2 separate regions of the Homo sapiens genome follow, and region 1 is linked to region 2. Evidence: promoter capture Hi-C in human tissues and cell types (Jung and others, 2019). All regions are on one chromosome and are shown on one strand. Each heading gives the region's core, a stretch centred on a gene start or on the middle of the fragment in contact. The rest is flanking DNA. Distances are from core to core; before and after follow the strand shown.

Region 1 (3,156 bases), core at 345-2,844, 150 kb before region 2:
CTGGCCTTCGACAGTCTGCTCTCCACTCCACAGCCAGCTGATCCTCTTTGGAAATCATGAATCAGACCATGCCACTTTTATGCTCAAAATCTTTCAAAGGTTTTCTGTCTCACAGTAAGAAAAAGTCAAGTCTTTATGCATGAAGTATAAGGTCCTATAAAATCAGGCAATCCCAGTCTCTTTCTGGCTTACTAGACTTCTGCAGCCCCTAAAACACCAGCCTGCTTGCCGTCCCTAGAACTTGCTGGGCCTCTGCCTGGGATGCCCCCTATATTCTCATGGCTTACTCCCTTACCTTGCTGCAGTCTCTGATTAATTATTTTCCCCAAGCACTCCATTTTACTTTTATAAAATGGCTAGAGTGCAGTGGTGTGATCTCGGCTCACTGAAGCCTCCAGCTCCCAGGTTCAAGTGATCCTCCTGCCTCAGCCTCCCGAGTATCTGGGACTACAGGCGCATGGCACCACATCCAGCTAATTTTTGTATTTTTTTTAGTAGTGATGGGGTTTCACCATGTTGGCCAGGATGGACTCGATCTCTTGACCTCGTGATCCGCCTGCTTTGGCCTCCCAAAGTACTTGGATTACAGGCATGAGCCACCATGCCCGCCCCAAGCATTCCATTTTAAAACACAACCCCTACTCTCTGGCATCCTTCTCTGCCTTATTTTCCCCCATAGCAGTTATCTTCATCTGACACATAATATATTCTAGTTGTTATCTGTCTGCCCTACCTCACCCCACTAGGATGGTGATTCTGTGAAAGCAGGGGTTTTTGCTTGTCATTGCCTAGGATAGACCAGGCACATAGTAGAGCTCCATAAATATTTCCTGAATGAGTGAATACACACGTGCCTTCAAATACATATGCACCAACCTGAACTAGTTTTGGAAAATACTTTTCTCAGTTAGTTTTATACTTTGGTGGGCAAGCTAATGTCACAAGACACACTATTCACAGAAATTCTTTTTTTTTTTTTTGAGACGGAGTCTCACTCTTTTGCCCAGGCCAGACGGCAGTGGTGCTATCTCGGCTCACTGCAAGCTCCGTCTCCTGGGTTCATGCCATTCTCCTGCCTCAGCCTCCCGAGTAGCTGGGACTACAGGTGCCCTCCACCACGCCCGGCTAATTTTTTGTATTTTTAGTAGAGACAGGGTTTCACCGTGTTAGCCAGGATGGTCTCGATCTCCTGACCTCGTGATCCACCCGCCTCGGCCTCCCAAAGTGCTGGGATTACAGGCATGAGCCACTTACAGAAATTCTTATCTACTGACTTTGCCAAAAGAATACTTTAGCAAATTCTTTTAATTATTAGCAAGGGCTCAGTCAGTTCATATAAAGGAACACAAAGGAAATACCAAATAAATAGACGTGTGAAGGTCGCTATGAAGTCACTTAGAGACGTGCACGTTGTTAACCTGGCCTCCAACACTAGATTAGCTATTTAAATACCAGGGAGGGTTAAACAGAGGTGACAGATTCAGAGGTGGATGACAAGAAATGAAAGCGTTGATATTTAAGTAACTTTTAATAATTATACAGTCCTTCTGCCATATATTATAAGGAATCATGAAGCAGGTAAACTCGGATTACAAGAAAACCTTAAGGGCTTATAAACAATGTAAGGGTTTGTTGCTTTTGTTGCTTTTCCAGAAGGAATGGCCTCATCTCCATAGAAATCTGCTCTTTCTCTAGCAGGTATCTGCTCCTTTCAGAAGAGCCCGTGGGATTATAATGTATCTGTAACATTTAGATCACAGGATACACTTAGAGCTGAGTAAAGTTTCTCCTTGCCTGGAATTCTCCTCAAACAGTTGCACTCACTTACCTACAAGTGGCCCCAAACCCGCTTCTTAATCTGGCTGGCTTTCTTCAGTTACTTGGTAAGGTACATTTCAGTTAAAAGAAGAGTGTCACTGCAGAATAGGTTGTACTAGGAGGCAGGGATTTCAAAGCCTGCTAGTCAGTAGATCCTGAAGCACGTACACATCATCTTGCAGGTCAGTAAGAACATTACATGGAACTGACACACATGACAATCATGGTGAAATGGGTGGTTCTTGGATTAAATGGTCTGATTTAAATCCCTGCCCTATCTCGTAATAACTATATGATCTTGATTCAGTTTTTCATCTGGAACAGTGAGGGTTATAAAAGGAACCTTGTCATTGTCAGTTGTTTCACTGATACATATTTGTACATTATTTATGCAGTACATGTGATATTTTATTACATGCGTAGAATGTGTAATGATCAAGTCAGGGTATTTAAGGTATCCATTACCTAAAGTATTTATCATTTCTATGTGTTGGGACCAGTTCAGGTCCTCTCTCTTTGTTATTTTGAAATAGACAATATATTGTTGTTAACTTAACTATAGTCACCCTACTGTGCTACCACACATTAAAGCTTATTCCTTCTATCTAACTGTATGTTTGTACCCATTAGCCTACTTCTCTTCATCGTCCTACTCACCCACACTCCCTTTGCAGCCTCTGGTATCTATCATTCTACTCTCTACCTCCATGAGACCAACCATTTTAGCTCCCACATAGGAGTGAGAACATACAACATTTTGACCTTAACATAATGACCTTCATAGTGACCTTCAGTTCCATTTGTGTTGCTGCAAATGACATAATTTCATTCTTTTTATAGCCACATAATATTCCATTGTGTGTATATATATATACCACACTTGCCTTATCCATTCCTCTGTTGATGGACACAGGTTGATTCCATATCTTGGCTACTGTAAATAGTGCCACCATAAACATGGGGGTGCAGGCATCCCTTTTTTATACTGATTTCTTTTCCTTTGGATAAATAACCATTTAGTGAGATTGCTGGATCATATAGTAGTTCTATTATTAGTTTTTTGGTAATCTCCATTCTGTTTTCCATAGTGGCTGTACTAATTTACACTCTCACCAACAGTGCCCTTTTCACCACATCTTTATCAGCATCTGATTTTTTTGTCTTTTAGTAATAGCCATTTTAACTGGAGTAAGATGGTATCTCATTGTCATTTTGATATGCATTTTCCTGAGGATTAATGACGTTGAGCATTTTTTCATATACCTGTTGGTCATTTGTATGTCTTCTTTTGAGAAATGTCTATTCATGTCCTTTGCCCACTTTTTTTATTGTATTATT
Region 2 (2,974 bases), core at 448-2,947:
GCAGGTGTCTATTAGGAATGTCTCTTCCCCCTAAGAATCGTTGCCAGCTACTCCCGCTGGGTCTCCCATCATGCCCCCTTCTTTTCCATTGTATGGCATATTTTCTTTTTTATCGTAATTGTTAAATTGTTTGTCTTCCCTGTTGAAACATAATTTGGGTGGAAGTGGGATTCCTGGTAGCCAATGGCTCATAGTAGACGTTCAACACGCAAGTGGATTGGATAGATGGAAGGATAGATGGGTAGATGGAAAGTTGGATGGATGGATGGATGGATGGATGGATGGATGGATGGATGGATGGATAGGGATTTTGGAGGAAGAGGAGTGAGCAGTCACTGAAAAGAATAGAAAAATAATGAGGCTTGCTCCCTCTCCCTAGTCAGAAGAGCCAGTAAGCAGCTTAGAGCTTTAATCCCACAAATTGTCAGGCAGCTGGCGCAAGAACAGGGAAAAAGAGAGAGAGAGAGAGAGAGAGACCCTGTCTGTGGTAGGTTATGGTCATCAGTGAAAAAGAACAAAAACCTTTGTTTTAAAACTCTCCTCAAAACAGATGATTGGCTAGAGGGTGCGGCACAAAGGAACTTGTCAGGGTGATGGAGACATTCTGTATCTGGATTGAGCAATGCAAGAACCTGGGTAAAGACACAGTCATGGTAACAGCTGTATACATCTGTTGAAAACTCATCAAACTTATCATATTTAGAAAGGGTACATTTTGCTTCATGTAAAGTATGCCTCAATAAAGTGTACTTGATTTTAAAATCAGGATAAAGGAAAAAAACATTGATCTTGGATAATGGGCAGGGGTTGGGGAGAAGGTCTTAATTATCATCATATCCTTTTAAAAACGTTTTTCAAGTGTGTGATGCTCTGATGACATTCTTAAGACACAGCAAGGCAAAGCAGTATCCCAAATGAGAGAGTGAGCATTCCAATAAATATTTTCTGTAAGACACTGATATGTCTATGACTATTTGCTAAATTTAAAAATCAACTTGGACCATATTTACTCCCTTAAAGTCTAATAGACGACTAATTTCTTCTATGTTCAGAACAAATATGTTGCTACTTTAAGAACAGCATACATAGGTGTGGTCGGCCCTCTGTGTCTAAGGCTTCTGCATCTGTGGATTCAACCAACAATGGACTGAAAATATTCCAAAAATAAAATAAAATTAATGAAACAACAACAAAAATAAAACAAATAAAAAAATGCCAGGTAACAACTACTTACAAAGCATTTACATAGTATTAGGTGTTAGAAGTAATCAAGAGATGATTTAAATCACCATCTATGATTGGCTGATATGCATAGGTTATATGCAAATACTATGCCACTATATATAAAGGACTTGAACATTCGCAAATTTTGGTATCTGCAGGGGATTCTGGAACCAAACCCCATGGATACCAAGAGACAACTATATATAAAATACTGAAAGAGGCATGGAGAGTGATTTTCAGGCCTCTACCTAAAGCCCTGAATATTAGAAATTACTGAATTTCTTCTCAGGAAGGAAATTACGCCATAAACCAGTGTTGCCACACACCCAGAGAACAAGATGACCCGACGCCCCAGCCTGGTCATGCCACATGAGCTGAGCAGTGGGTAGGCCACTGAGCCAGTGATAGAAATCACAAATTACAAAACGTCAGAGTACTTTCTGGAAATAAGCCTTCCTCTCCAGGGAACAACGCATTTGACACTTGACTGGGATACACTACCGGATCCTCCGAGGGTGATGGTTCTCAAGAAGGCAGAAGCAATGGTGACCAATAGACCTCCTTAAAGGCTGAGCCGCTGGGCACCTTCCTACTCCTCTCGACCGTGCTAGGATGACTGCAGCAGAGTCCCCGAGTCCTTTGATGCAAGGGTCTAGGTGAGTTCGAAGGAGAGCCATACTAGGCCAGGCAGAAAGGCCCATGGTGATGGCTGTCCACCCTGGTCAGGGGAATTCTAGGTTCAGGCCATGCGGCAAGGTCACCTTGAGGGACATGCTTTGCTCTAAGCTCAGCTTAAGTGTGTCTGAACCCCCCTCACTTCTTCCAACTGCAGAAGCACATGGAGAAGGGGGAGAAAGGGTTGCCCACCTCCTAAAATGAGGGCAGCGTGGTGAAGAGCCCCATCATGCCCCACCAAGGTCCTGTGTGCAGGGCAGGGCAGTGCCTATCCAGAAGGCCAGACCTCTAACTGCTGCTCTGTAGGACGTCCGGGCCTCACATGCAGGCTCCTATAAGCTGGCTGTCTTGGCAAGAGGGCCCTGGTACAGCACTGTGTTCATCACAGAAAACCACACCGTACATAATTTGTAACAGACAGAAATGCATTTGGCTCATGGTTCTGGAGACTGGGAACCCAGGATGGAGGGGCCACATCTGGCAAGGGCCTTCTTGCCATGACATGGTGGAAGGTATCACAAGGTTGGGGAAGGAGGGGTGGGCGGGGCGGGAAGAGAGAGAGAGAGAACAAGAGAGAGAGAATCCATTCATAAGGGTGGAGCCCTCATGACTAAACACCTCCCATTAGGTCCCACCTCCCAACACTGTTGCTTTGGGGATTAAGTTTCCAGCTGGCTTTTTTCAAACCTTAGCAACCACCAAACAGACAAGCCCTTCGGCCTGTCCTGGAGGGCGTTGAATGGCATGGCCTGGAGCTCAACCAGGAGAACCGTGCTCAGGAGGAAGAGACCAGAAGGATAACTCAAAAAGTTCTGAGAAGTTCCTAAGACCACCTGAAGAGAAGGAGCCTGCTGCCAATGGTGTGGACACCGCAGTGTGCTTGAGGAGACTTCAGAAACGAGAACTGGTAGGAGAAGGGGGTTGCACAGACCCTTTCCTCAGTTAGGCACCCTCTGCTCCCACCCTCATGCCCACCCTGACATCAGGCTAAGGGAGAGGCGCTCATCCATTGACAGGTGCCAGGCTGTCCTGGGCCTGGCAAACCCTGGCCTTGTACACCCACTCTCCACACGTC

What was found. Contacts are between HindIII fragments. The study calls those that stand out against the background at their distance.
Region 1: a fragment that was not itself captured here is called in contact with the fragment with the promoter of KCNE1 in region 2 in 7 of the 25 tissues and cell types used here (dorsolateral prefrontal cortex, heart left ventricle, liver and 4 more).

What each region holds. Positions count from the first base shown.
Region 1 is chr21:34,662,705-34,665,860 of GRCh38, reverse strand. No RefSeq gene overlaps it. Among named protein-coding and RNA genes, the nearest start is that of CLIC6, 4.7 kb to the left of the region's middle. The HindIII fragment of the contact is 6,731 bases long and covers 1-3,156 here.
Region 2 is chr21:34,510,933-34,513,906 of GRCh38, reverse strand. KCNE1 (potassium voltage-gated channel subfamily E regulatory subunit 1) reads left to right here and starts at 1,697. Exons shown (of 4, transcript NM_000219.6): 1 at 1,697-1,880; 2 at 2,592-2,806. The HindIII fragment of the contact is 8,709 bases long and covers 1-2,974 here.